Linked DNA regions of Homo sapiens: all the other regions are linked to region 1. The links are contacts of gene promoters, found by promoter capture Hi-C in blood cells and fetal thymus (Javierre and others, 2016). All regions are on one chromosome and are shown on one strand. Each heading gives the region's core, a stretch centred on a gene start or on the middle of the fragment in contact. The rest is flanking DNA. Distances are from core to core; before and after follow the strand shown. Region 1 holds the start of FAXDC2 (fatty acid hydroxylase domain containing 2). Region 2 has its middle 41 kb from the start of MFAP3. Region 3 overlaps MFAP3 (microfibril associated protein 3). Region 4 overlaps FAM114A2 (family with sequence similarity 114 member A2). Region 5 overlaps GALNT10 (polypeptide N-acetylgalactosaminyltransferase 10).

Evidence for each region. Contacts are between HindIII fragments. The CHiCAGO score rates a contact against its expected background, and 5 or more counts as called.
Region 2: a contact is called between a fragment that was not itself captured here and the fragment with the promoter of FAXDC2 in region 1, in 1 of 17 cell types (neutrophils). The highest score is 6.9, in neutrophils.
Region 3: a fragment that was not itself captured here is called in contact with the fragment with the promoter of FAXDC2 in region 1 in 5 of 17 cell types (M1 macrophages, activated CD4 T cells, naive CD8 T cells and 2 more); the score reaches 9.0 in M1 macrophages.
Region 4: a contact is called between a fragment that was not itself captured here and the fragment with the promoter of FAXDC2 in region 1, in 6 of 17 cell types (total B cells, naive CD8 T cells, activated CD4 T cells and 3 more). The highest score is 6.8, in total B cells.
Region 5: a fragment that was not itself captured here is called in contact with the fragment with the promoter of FAXDC2 in region 1 in 1 of 17 cell types (activated CD4 T cells); the score reaches 6.3 in activated CD4 T cells.

Annotation. Positions count from the first base shown.
Region 1 is chr5:154,849,336-154,852,035 of GRCh38, reverse strand. FAXDC2 (fatty acid hydroxylase domain containing 2) reads left to right here and starts at 1,433. Exons shown (of 9, transcript NM_032385.5): 1 at 1,433-1,553. The HindIII fragment of the contact is 21,500 bases long and covers 1-2,700 here.
Region 2 is chr5:154,078,527-154,081,226 of GRCh38, reverse strand. No RefSeq gene overlaps it. Among named protein-coding and RNA genes, the nearest start is that of MFAP3, 41 kb to the right of the region's middle. The HindIII fragment of the contact is 5,875 bases long and covers 1-2,700 here.
Region 3 is chr5:154,048,993-154,051,692 of GRCh38, reverse strand. MFAP3 (microfibril associated protein 3) reads right to left here. Exons shown (of 3, transcript NM_005927.5): 2 at 1,676-2,136. The coding sequence starts at 1,970. Among named protein-coding and RNA genes, the nearest start is that of MFAP3, 11 kb to the right of the region's middle. The HindIII fragment of the contact is 1,031 bases long and covers 802-1,832 here.
Region 4 is chr5:154,009,108-154,011,807 of GRCh38, reverse strand. It overlaps FAM114A2 (family with sequence similarity 114 member A2), which reads left to right. Exons shown (of 14, transcript NM_018691.4): 9 at 488-567. Among named protein-coding and RNA genes, the nearest start is that of FAM114A2, 28 kb to the left of the region's middle. The HindIII fragment of the contact is 1,219 bases long and covers 820-2,038 here.
Region 5 is chr5:154,197,422-154,200,121 of GRCh38, reverse strand. The region is part of intron 1 of GALNT10 (polypeptide N-acetylgalactosaminyltransferase 10); the gene reads right to left. Among named protein-coding and RNA genes, the nearest start is that of GALNT10, 8.0 kb to the right of the region's middle. The HindIII fragment of the contact is 908 bases long and covers 992-1,899 here.

The DNA.
Region 1 (2,700 bases), core at 184-2,683:
GTGATCATGCCATTGCACTCCAGCCTGGGTGACAGAGCAAGACTCCATCTCAAAAAATAAAAAAAAGAAATCCTCCTGCCTCAGCCTTCCAAAGATTGCTGAGATTACAGGCATGAGCCACTGCACCCGGCATTTTTTATTTTGTTTTGTTTTTTAGAGACAGGGTCCCACTCTGTCACTCAGGTTGGAGTGCAGGGCACAATCATAGCTCACTGCAGCCTCCAACTCCTGGGCTCAAGCCATCCTCCCACCTCAGCCTCCCCAGTAGCTGGGATAACAGACATGTGCCAGTAAGCTCTACTAATTTTTTGTATATGTAGTAGAAATGGGGTTTTGCTACATTGCCCAGGCTGGTCTTGAACTCCTGGCCTCAAGTGATCCTCCCGTCTTGGTCTTCCAAAGTGCTGAGATTATACATGTGAGCCGCCGTGCCCAGCCAAGTTTCTGAGTTTTGTTTATTTTAGAAAGGAGTCTTCCTGTGCTGCCCAGGCTGGTCTCAAATACCTGGGCTCAAGTGATCCTCCAACCTCAGCCTCCCAAATAGTTGGGACTACAGGTGAGCACCACCATGCCTAGCCAATCTCCATGTTTGATTGTTAAGTGGAAAAAGCAAGGTGCACAACAAACATACTATGGTGCTGTTGCTAAAGGAGAAGCACAAGGCCTACACATGTTTCTATTTACAGAGGTAAGCTCTGGAAGGATATACAAAAATCTGGTCACAGAGGTTGTCTCTTGGGAGGAAAAAAAGGGGACTGAGGAGAAATTAAAAAAAGACTTTTCATTGTACATTCTTTTGACCCTATTGTATTTTATATCATTTGCACATTTGCTTATTTAAAAAGTTTTCAGAAATTTAAAAGCAGCTCTTTTTCCAAAGTGCTCCTCACTTCATGTCATGGGTCCTGTATCCTAAGTTCCCCTATTTCAATCACAGTGCAAATTTACCCTCCACAGGCATGCCTTTCCTGCATCTAGACTCACTAGAAATAGCTGATGCATCTCTCCTCCCTTGCCTGCCCTCCACAGGAAAAGAAGCAATGAAAAAAAAGAAAATGAGATCCTCTGGTCTCTGTCACCTTTTTATCAACTTGTACTACCTGCCATTATCTGACACCCACATCTTTTCTTGAATCTGCCTCCTCCTATGGGACAGCGACATTTTCTTAAGTTGCAGATGATGGAGAAAATTTTTTAAAAGAAAAAAAGGGGGCAGGGGGAGGGAAGCCCAGAGTTTGGCCAAATGCACGTTTTTCAAGTTCCTGCTTGAGCTTAGATTCCCTTTCCGCTTTAAGGACATGCCCTCTGGAAAGAAGGGTGTTTTGTTTCCAGCCCACACAGACCCAAACTTTTTTCATCACGTGCCTGGTCCGAGCCAGTACGCAGCTCTGTAATGAGATCACCATGGCCAGCCTCCCACCCGAGCAAAAACAAGGTTAGCCTGCAGCAGAGCCGCAGCAGCAACAGCCACCAAAGCGGGGGCTGAAAGGGAAGAGAACTTAGATTTGACCTGTGCAAGGACCTCAGCAGCTTGGACACAGCCCACTGCAGAGGTAAGTGGGAACTACGGGGGAGGGGTGGTGTTTGCAAAGGTCAGGACATGTCCAGGTTCACTTAAAGTAAGGGCAAAACAACACTCTTCCCACCTCTGCCACCACCCTGTCCTCTCTACTTATGGCAGGGTTAGATTTGCCTCTAAACAGGGTTAGATGGCAGGGTTAGAATTTGTCCTAGGACATTGCTGTAGTGCAGTCGCCTCCTTGTCTCTTACTAATGTCTGTATCCTCTGCCTGTGTTTGTACCATCTACCTCCTCAGTAGTCTAATTTTTCTAGCAATTGACAGGTGATTGTAATGGACAAGTAATTGTTTGACTTTAAAACCATTTGTAAAGGAGCAACTCCTAATTCAGAACTCAAATGAGAGGCAGAACAAACTGGAAGAGACTGTTGGGAAGCAACTGCTGCCTAATTGCTTCTCATCTCTACTCTGCCATCACCAGGAAGGTATGGGGCAAAATACAACAGTTTTAAAGTCTCTGGATAGATGTGTGGGCTATGAGCTAGACAAGTAGGTTGAAACTGTTTTGATGCAACATACTTGGATTTACCAACAGTGGCTCCAGTTGTGAAATCGTTAGTGGCTTGATAGTACCTATGGAAACACTCCACGAAGGTTATTGAGTAAAGGGCATACAGTAAAGTGTGTAGGTGGAGATGAACAATAGAACAGTGGCTTTCAGGACCTTCTGGGGCTTAAGGCAAGCAAGACAAGATGCTGATTTGTGGGTTGCTTCAGTTTCATGTGCAATTCCAATTAAATTTCTTTGAGTGGGATATACAGATTCAATTCAATTTGCTAAAACACAGATGCACTGAGCATCAGCTTCTAACTTTAGTTACGAAAGTAATTAGCACAAGGGAATGGTGCTAAAATGTTCCATAGCAAATGTTGAACACTTTTTGAGGGCAAAAAGCAATGCTTTTGATTCGTGTATCTCTTATTTATTCGGCAAATCTTTCTTGAGTATCTTCTACATGCCAGGCTTGGGCTTGATTCTGTGGATCTCGTGGTAAACAAGACAGGCAGATTCTCGGCCTCATGGACATGCAATCAAGCAGAACAGTAAGCTCAAAGGGTGCAAGTACCATGCAGCAAAAGGAGTGAAGAGAGTATTACTAAAACTGGCCCATGGGAATCA
Region 2 (2,700 bases), core at 160-2,659, 770 kb after region 1:
GCTTTACCCCTTACTAGCTGCATGAATTAATCTTTCTGAATCTCAAGTTCCTTACATATAAAATAGGGAACAATTATACCTATACCTATTAGGGCTGTATTGATGAGAGAAATGAAATGTTTTTGAATTTCAGTTTCTTAATCTATACTATAAAGTGTAATAAAATTAATAAATGATGATGATAACTCCTTCTCAGGATTGATGTGGGGTAAAAGAACTAAATATAGCAGATTAATAGGATAAGTTATTGCACCTGGCCTATCCTGGGCATCCTCTACCCCACAACTTTTTTTAAATGTGAGAAGAATGGGGTTTTCCACTCTTGCTGCTTCTAGTCAGGTTACTTTTCATATAGGCTTGGCATCCATTTGCAGTGCTGCACCTTGTAATTTTTCATAAAAATCCTTCTCTTTTTTTTTCCCCAGCCATCATGAGGTATGGCCACAGCTGTCTCTGGGTGAGCAGACACAGAGCCCTCCAAAGGGAGAGAAAACCCATCAGAAGGCCTGCTGGGCCCAGGTGGAATCGCTGTGAATGAGGACATGTCAAAGAACTTATCTTTCTCCTGTAAACACCTTGGACCAACCCAGACCTGTTTAATTTCTAGGCAAGAAGCACAAATTGAATCCTGCACTACATGCATTTATCTCCTCACCTTTTTCGGCAGGAATCTAGATAGGAATTAATAGACTCACTCAAAGAGGAAAAGACATAGTGGGTGCAGTGGAGTCCTTTGTCTTTACGGGGCTTGAAAGGGTGGATCTCTAACACGTCTCATTTAATATTGGCTCGAGTTAAAGTATAGTAAATTCCAGGCCAAGAAGAAGAAACTAGGATGCCACAGAATGTTAGAGATAATTTAATTTAAACTCCTTACTCAATAGATAGAGAATCTGAGCTCAGGGAGGGGACAATCTGTCCACAGCCATATACCAAACTGCTGCTGGCTGGGCTGAGGGCTACGACACCTTACTCCTGGGCCAGTGCTCTGGGCAGGGCTTCCTATCTCTGTCATTCATTTCTTTTTTTTTTTTTTCTTTTTTTGAAATGGAGTCTTGCTCTGTTGCCCAGGTTATAGTGCAGTGGCACGATCTCAGCTCACTGCAACCTCTGCCTCCTGAGTTCAAGCAATTCTCTTGCTTCAGCCTCCTGAGTAGCTGGGATTACAAGTGTGCGCCACCACACTCAGCTAATTTTTGTATTGTTAATAGAGATGGGGTTTCACCATGTTGGCCAGGCTGGTTTTGGGCTCCTGACCTCAAGTGATCCTCCTGCCTCAGCCTCCCAAAGTGCTGGGATTACAGGCATGAGCCACTGCGCCTGGTCTCTGTCATTCATTTCTGTACCACGGTCATGATTTGTGTCATATTTACACACCCTCGGCACCATTATTAACATGGTCTTAATATCTGAATCGACTGTATTTTTTTATCCTTAAATAAATTTCTTTTGAAAGGAAATTGCTGTGAAGAGAAAACAAGGATTGTTTTCCACAAATAAAAGGTGACCACAAAAAATACATGCTATGAAATGAAGCAATACATTTTAAATATATTAAATTTTAAATATAATTTAAAATTTAAGTTTAAAAGTTTAATTTAGAAGTTAAATTTTAGCAAGGTACTGCTGTGTGTGAAAAGACTGTTCACTCTCTCTGTTAAAAGGGAGATTTGTCATGTTAAAGTGAACTTGAAAGGGAATGGCTTTCTCACCATAGGAGAGGATGTTTCTTAATAAGGTGTTTATGAACCATCTAAAATTGTCTCTCATATCATGAGTGGTCAAGTTGATCAGGAAAGAAAATGTGTTTGCAAACTTCCAAGGAAATGTAATACTTGACACTACTTGGGTTAGAATCCCAACTGTGCCATTTACCAGCCACTGGATCTCCAGCAAGTTATTTAACCTCTTTCTGTCTGTTTCCTTACTCATAAAATAGGAATAATTGTGTATATCATGGATTTATTGCAAGTACAAATAAGATATACATATAAAGCCATAGAACGGCACTCAGCATAGAGTAAGCACTCAGCACCACGTATTCTTGTAATTATCATTATTAAAACTTAAAGTGGTATTATGCCCTAGAGCAGGGTTGCAACCTTTTTCTGTAGAGGGTCAGATAGCACATTATTTTACCCTTTGCAGTCCATACAGTTTCTGTTGCAACAATTCAATCTTCCATAGTTCCAAGGAAGCAGACATATTGCATACATATATTAATGGGCATAGCTCTGCTCCAGTAAAACGCTACCAGAATAGGTGGCAGGATGGTTTTGGCTGGTGGGCCATGGTTTATGCTACAGGGATATAGTTATGTAAAACAAAAAACAGGCCAGATGCTTTGTACACTATTTTCGAATGAGGTAGCGTCATACTTCATACCTTAGCCCAAATCCCAATCTTTTGAATTCAATCCCATGCACCTGAAACGTAGGTTCTAGTCCAGAAACTTTGGTCTCACTACCTGCTATCATCTTAACTGCTGCCCAAATGGCCATGAGACTAAACAGCTCTTGAACTTGAAGCAGAATAAAGGTTAAAAGCATGGGCTTGGGAATTAGAATGACTTGGGTTTGCTGCTCACCCTGCAAAGGGTATTATTTTCTTTTTACACAGGAGGAAATTGCAGCTCAGTGGGGTGGAGTAATTTGCCCAATGTCACATAGCCAGCAAATTGACATCAGTTCCACAAACATG
Region 3 (2,700 bases), core at 68-2,567, 800 kb after region 1:
AAAAGAGGAAAACATGTAGTTATGAATATAGCCATTTTCCATAAGCTTCTGTTCTATGAACTTAGAGCTATGAAAACGACACCACTTGAATCCAAGGTATGATGAACTACAAAGACTCCATTCATCAACCATTGCACTACAACCACAATCTAAACTCTCTAGCTCACTTGCTGATAATAGCTCAAGATTTATGAACCTTATACTAGACTGACATGCTCTTTAAACTCCTCTCACTTGAGATTCATAAAATTTAATACAATTTTCCAGAGCTGCTGCTGAAAGCATCAATGATAGATGTTAGTGGTTTTCAAAGTAAAGGCAAAATAGAAAAATAAAACTGCCATTCCACTTGGCTGGTCTTGTTTTAACCTAAGGCTTTGTTTATGCAGTCAGTCTACAGTGATGACACTGAATGAATAATTCAGATCTCAGAGGTGTTTGGTCAGGATATCGTAGAGCCCAGAGAAGATAGGAGTCTGGTTCAGTGGGTTCAAATATGGAACCCCAAATCATGTTCAAAGTACACATTCCAGGTATCACTCTAATTCAATAGTTATGTATTTTAAACATGCTGATTAAAAATACCCTAACAATTCAAACTCTTCAATCCCTTGGTGACTAGTCACTCAGTCTATAGATTAAAATAGTGCATATGTCTGAAGGAAGTATCACCTGTCTCCTTTTGTGTTTTCCAGCCTAATATGAATAACCAATATCCTTTTCTATTTCAGAAGGCTACACTATCTTCCTAACAAAAAAATTTCTGAAAGTGTAGCTTGTGAGGATCTTAGAATTTAAGCTTCATCCCTTTGGCTTTTCATGGTGATTTCTTTTTGAGGTCCATTATAACTCAAGTACTCATCAAAAAGATCTTTATAACAGAACACTGGTTAGGAGTAGTCTGGATTAAGATATATTCACAGATCCATGAATAGGAAAATTAAATAAAAATCTGTCAAAAAGTAGACCTTGAACACACTATGTTTATGTGATTTTTAAGACATAAACAAAAAATGCAAAAAAAAATTTCTCATTTCCAGTAAATTAAGGTATAGAATACAAAAAAAAAAAAAAAAAAAAAAGAGCTGGAAGGGCTTACAAGTTCCATAGTGCCCTTCTAATTCTCTGAGACCTGACGTCAAAGTTTTATGCACAGATTGATACTCATTTTCAAAAATGTCCTGGATTTCCTCTAAAGTTTATAGTAACTAATTTCAGAGCAAAACTTTTTTATTTATAACAAATTTTCTTAAGTCTAGCCAAAAACCTTCTGGATGTATTCACACAGGGCCACCACACTGTACTACTGACATAGTAGTCTAGGTGAAGGGTGCTCCCAGAGTTGTGTTGTATACCACCTGTACAGCTGTATGCAGCAGCCCTGATTTACTCTACCTTCAATGAAGAAGAAAACCAACTGATCAGGAGAGAAAATAGCTCATTGTCATCATGTGAACATCTTTTAAATTTAGAATGATTCTTTTTTTTCTTCTTCTGGTTAAACAATTATAATTACTTTGCATTTTCTGATAGGTACAACACTCCAGACCTTTCAAATGTTTTAAACTATTCACCTTGGCACCTTATCTTTGAGACTTTTTGTTTAACGTGTTAAAAAATAAGAAGACAGAACAGGAAATGAGTAACCTTGATTAATTATACCCTGACCAATTACCTCTGCTTCTGCCATCCAGTTGCTGTCCTTTTGAATTGTGCCAATGGACATCTTCATAGTGACTGGCTGTGAGAAGACACTCAATTGAAACGCTAGTTCCCTCTTTGGCTATGATGACATCATCATCCGAGTGGGAACTTGCTGAGAGTTCAAAGCTTGAGGGAAAGGATGCATTGTAAGAACTACGATTTGCTTCCAGTGAAACCATTTGGTCGAAGTCCACATCTTCCAAAACAAAAGCAGCTGGCACAATAATACTTGCCACTAAAGTGAATAAGCAACAATGTAGCTTCATGGGAAAATGGGACAAAATCTTGTTTAGATTTGGAGAACTCAAAAACTTCTACACTACAACAAAAGCACAGCGGGTAATTTATTGCTTGGTAGAGAAATTTTCCAAACAAGTGGTAGATCCAGTTATATTTTCTAGTCTTCAAGATTAAAAGATGTGAGTAGAGAACCTAAAAGAAAGCCAGATACAAAGTTTAACCAACTGAGATTCATAATGGGGTGAAAGTGCGTATGTTCCAGAATGAATAGATGTTAATTAGAATAATTGGTGCTGACATTGGGGAGTAATTAGATGGAACAGTACCTAAAAATCTCACACAGAGACAGCAGAAAAAGCAATGAATTGGTAAATAGCAGACCTAGATTTTGGTCCTAGCTTTGCCACTAACTAGCTGTACGACCTTGGCAAGCAGCATTCTCTCTGGGTTTCTGTTTTCTCCTCTGTCAAATAAGGGACTGGATGAGATAATCTCTAAGGACTCTTCCAATTCTGAAATGCCATGATTCTATTTCATTCTGACAAATTTTATGCAACAGGGAGCCAATGAAGGCTAAAATATTTATCTTAATGATCTTTTATTTCAACCTGCACCATTACCATCTGTTGTTATAATGTAAATCAACTGGCATATCATAATCATAACCATGGAGCTCAAAATTTGAGTAATTCAAGTATGAAGATATGTTACATATAAATAATGCAGGGACACCTGAGGTGGGTTGTTTTAACACTG
Region 4 (2,700 bases), core at 180-2,679, 840 kb after region 1:
AACTCTTCCTATTCTCCTGGCTAACTTGTACTCAAGTTTGATGTCCCAACTTAAACTCCACTTTCTTGGAAGCGCATGTACAGTACTTGCTTAGTCTATGCTGTCACCATTTCTATATTCTTGCTCTGGATATAATGCAAAAAGCACAGCACAGGGTTTGGACTGGGAGTAGGAAGACTAAGGTTTGACTACTAATCTTTGCTATGCAGTCTTGGGGAAGTCACTTAATGTCTTCAAGCCTTTATCACTTCATCTCTAACATGGAATAATGGCACTTTTCTCTCAAGCCCATTGAAGCATTTATTGATATACGTAAAAGGATTCTATAAGCACTAAAGCACCATGCTCATGTACATTACTGCTGCTACTATTGTTATTACTACTACTGTCACTGCTATTACCACTCCTCTCCTCTTCCTCCTCGCCTGCCACCTCATGATCCTCAGCAGTCTTTCTGGAGTGTTTTATATGGGACTTGGTTTTTTAGGGGATGAAGATTTTACCAAGGACATAACAGAGCTGTTTTCCCAGCTGCACGTTTCCTCCAAACCAGAGAAACTTGCCAGGGTAAGTTATTGCTTCTTGGTGATTTTCATTATTTTACTTGTAAAAATGTAGTGGATAAAGAGCATAAGATTATAAATTCCTGGCAGAGGTGTCACCAAAATCGAAGGTATATTCTCGTTATACCCAGAATTGGGTTCTGCATCTACTTGCCTTCTGCTCCTCCAGGTTAGTGTGTTGAAGCCACATCTGCCCCACAACACGTGTCCCATCCTTACCTGTTTTCATTTGGGATGCTTTGCTTATCTGAAAGCTTAATTTAGTCTACAATGTTGGTCATTAAAAGTTGGCAGTGATGACCAGCCTCATGATTCCAGTGGGTGAGCCTCTGTCGAGGACTCACTGTTCTCAGGGATCTGAATGATTTAGAGATGATATGTGGCCTTGCCCATAGGGATTAGAGGTTGTCATTACCCAGAGCCCAGTGACTCAGATAATGACTATTTGGCGTGTGGAAATGAGAGAGTATTATGACCAAGGCCCTTATTTTTGGTGCTGATTCTGGAACTATTTTCTTATATTTGGAATGTGGAGAGACTTTAATCAAAGCTCAGAGTGGGTAGGGAGGTTCTGTGGCAAGTATAAGCCAGTGCCTGCTCTTGGGACACTGTTCACTGGGTCATGGATTGCTTGCTACCTCTTTACCCACCTCTACCAATCTTGAGAAGCATTTCAGGACCAGTCAGCTGCAGGTGCACATTGTTTCCTGGCCAGGGAGAGGTGAGAGCTATTGCATAGTCAACCCAGTCACCTTGTCTCCATCCCCCAGGGCAAAAACTATGATGTTTGGTGTGTTATCCCACTCTCCTATGCCCATCGAAAATGCTGCATTCTCTGAAAAAGCTCTTTTAGATCATCCCCAGGCAGCTCATCTCCCTCACCTCTACTGTAACACTTTACTAAAGCACTTTTGATCTTATAGTGCTTTTTATTTTGGAAATAATATCAAACTTAGAGAAAAGTTACAAGAGTAGCACAAACAATATTTGTATACCTTTTATGCAAATCCAGTACTGTTAATACTTACTTCATTTGCTCAAACATTTGTGCTTTCACATGTGTTCTTTCTCTGTGTAAATACATGTATACATATATAGATAAACACTTTATTTTTGTAACTATTTGAGAGTAAATTGTAAACATTATTGCTCTTCTAAATGTTTCAGTATGTGTCTGCTAAGGATAGGGATATTCCCTTACATAACCACAGTGTAGCTATCAACTTCAGTAAATTTAACATTAGTACTTTTGTTGTACTAATTTGTTGTAATCTATTTTCCATATTTCAGTTACATCAGTTGACCCAATAATGTCCAATAATACCAAACTTTTTCCTCTACCACTGGAGCCAGTACATGATCACAGATTGTATTTAGTTGCCATGTACTTTTAGTTTCCTTTAATCTAAAATAGTTCTTCAGTCTTTTTTTGTCTTTTTGTCTTTTATGACGTTGGTGTTTTTGAAAAACAAGCTTTGGAGTTTCTCTAATGCTTTCTCATGATTAATGTCAGTTTATACATTCCTGGCCAAAATACTCCATAAGTGATGGTGTGTCCTGCCCAGGGTATCACATCTAAAGGTACATGATATCCATCTGCCCCTTATTGGTGATGTGTTGTCTGATTTTGTTCTGTACAGTTAAAGTTTATTTTCCTATCTTGCTAATAAACTTTCTGTGAGGAGATACTGTAAGACCATACAAATATCCTGCTATTCATCATAATTTCTCTTCTAAATCTAGCATTTATTTATGATTCTGGCACCAATATTTAATGTGAAGATTTACCAGTTGGCTTTCAGCATTCTAGAATAGTCATGACCTCTCCTTTCTCCCCCATTTTGTTCTTTTTTTAATTTGTTATCAGTATGCTTTCATGGAGTTCTGCTTTTCCCCCATTGGCTTGTAATTCATCACTGTCCTTAATTATTTTGATGTTCAAATTTGTCTTTCAAGCTGGCTCCTAGGTGGCATGCCTCCATCATTTTTGGGTGCTTCCTTATTTTCTGGCATAACAAGATATTCTAGACTCATCTTATGCCTTCTGTGCCCCAGCCCTGCAACCAGACATTTCTTTGAGAAAGCATGATTCATTCCCTTTTGGTTTTATAGACCAAGACATGAGTACTAAGTGTAC
Region 5 (2,700 bases), core at 196-2,695, 650 kb after region 1:
CCTCCGCAAGTCCCTGTGAGCAGGGGCAGACCCACAGACTCGCCCCAGACCATCCAGTCAGTGGCTGGCGCAGATACCGGAAGGAAGCATCCCAGCTGGATTGGAATCCTGTTTCCATCACTTCCTAGCTGCGTGGCCCTGGATATGTTACCTGACCTCTCTGTACCTCAATCCTCACAACTGTTATTTAATTTCATCTAATCATCACCATGACACTAGGAAGTAGTGATGACTTTGCTCATTTTAGGAGAAGGAGCAGGAAGCCCCAGAGGTCAGGCACAGAGCCAGCAAGTGGCAGAGCTGGGCCTGAGGATCAGGTCACATTGGTTCCCAACTCCACACTCTCTCCTCTGCTCTCTCCAGTACAAGGGAGAGGTTTACAGGGTCTCCACAATACTAACCCTTCCCAAGAGACCCCCTAGTTCAGCCCAACACCCACGTAGAGGCACCTACCTCATCCTTGCCCATGGCAGGAAGGCAGAGCACGCATCCTGGAAGAGCAGCAGACTGTGGGCATCAAAGGAAAATAAAGCTCTACCGCCCCAGCCAATCCTCGCAGCCCACAGGAGAGGGATTCCAAAGTGCACCTCCCATCCCTGTCCTGAACTGGAGCCTGATCTGCTTGCATCAGATACAGTGCCACTGCTAAAAGTACCACAGAGCTCCCCTGTGGGTGCTGATTGACAACTTGGGAAGCTGCAGATAAACACACTTCCCAGGAACAGAAGTTCAAGGGCGGGTCCTGAAGCACTCCTGGGGAGAATGGAGTGGGTCCCTGGGGAAAGAGAGGTCTGTCTCCTGTCAGGTGGGTGGAGAGGAGTTCCCTGTTGGACCCTCAGTAGGATTTGTTAAATATGTGATCCTTGGCCAAGCCCAAACCAGCCCCTTCATGCTCTTTGGGCATGGATCCTGGTGTCACCATCCTTAACAGGCTCCCTAGGGATTGTGAAGCACCCTGAAGTTCAAGAAGAACCATTCCTAAGGCTAAGCTTCCAGCATGCAGCCAGCAGTTACTGAGTACCAACCATATGATTCACTTACTCACTCACCCCCTCAGCCATTCAGCAAATATTTTAGGCAAACAAGAGTGACCAAGAGAGAGGTTAGTTCCTGCCTTTAGGAAGCAGACAGTCTGGACAGATTAAAAACAATTACAGCATTGCGTGACAGATTTATATACAGGTCTCCGGGCCCTGGTTGGGAAGAATGCTAACCTAGGCTGCCCTGGCAGGAGTTAGTCAGGTCTAGGGGCAAGGCTGCAGGGAAGAAGGATGTTAGAAATCTTCTAGAGGGCCTCTGATCTAAGTAGGCAGATGAGAAAATCAAGGCTCAGAGGAGCTAAGACCCTTGAGTGACCCCTGGGGGCTGGAGTAACCAAAGAACACTTCCTGGAGGCAGCAGGCTATGAGCTGAATCTAGAAGGATACAGAGGGTCTGGGTTGTCCCAGGGTGGGAGTTGAGAAGGCATCCCCAACAATTGCTTCGCATTCCGAAGTTTCAGGAAGAGGGGTACCAAGAGCAGCCTCTGCATGCACAATTTCCTTCCCACCTCCAATAATCAGAGACTGCACCCACCTGGCTTCTTCCAGTTCTTCTGAACCCTGTGCTGTTAAGCCAACCACTTATCTTCGAATTGCTCACCTTCTAGACAAAGACAATGTTATGCAGCCCTCCCTACCTCCGCCAAAGGGAAGCCACAGAGAATTGAGTCCCTGCCATAGGCGAGGCACTTCACAAAGGCAGCGGCATCACCATGTTTACCAAGCACTTGTTCTGTACCAAGCATTGTGTTTGGGGTTTTACCCACAGTGACTCACTGAACCCTCAAGAGAACTCTCTGCCACAGTTAACATTACTACCATTTTACAGACCAAGAATTCCAGGCACACAGGTCAAGCTTGCCCAAGCCTCGGGTTTTGAATCAGGCAGTGTAGCTCCAAAGCTAGAGCACTATACGCAGCCCCACATGCCTCAAACCAAGAGGAACGGAGACAGGAGGAGGCTGAGGTAGAGGTTTCTCTTCCAGCACACACCACCACCACATGACCTTATGTGCTCCACTTCAGCTACTGAAGAGGCTGTCTTAGGGCAATGGTCCCTCTCACCTGCTCAGATGTCCAGGCTTGCAGGAAGGGCTTAACGGGCAGGGGTGGAAGACAGGTCCTTTGTCCTGCTCAGATATGGAGGAAGTATGGTGGTTAAGGACTCAGCACTAGGTCAGAGTTCAAATACCAGCTCCACCACTACAGGCTGTGCATCCTTGGGCAAGCACCTGCCCCTCTTCGAGCTTCAGTTCCCTCCTTCTTTCCTACCTGGTTACAACAATATTTAACAGATGTACAGGTAAAGGACCTAGCAGAGTAAGTGCTAAATAAATGGTAACTGCTATTACTACTATTAACATTATCAACCTCATTATCAGCCATATCATCATCATTCTTTGGATCAGTATCATTTTATGCTGTGGCTTTCATCACCTGAGAAAACTGAAGACAATTTAACATCTGAAGCTCAGCATTCTCTTAAAGCCATAGGGAAGGAAAAAAATAGGCCTGCTTTTTTCTTTTCTCTCCTATCTACACTCAGCAGAGGGCAGCAAACAGGAACCATTCAAAGATAAGAGGGAGAGAAGAGAGACACATGGAGAGAAAGCTACACACGCATAAATACACACCCACCCACCACAGCAAGCAGAATTGT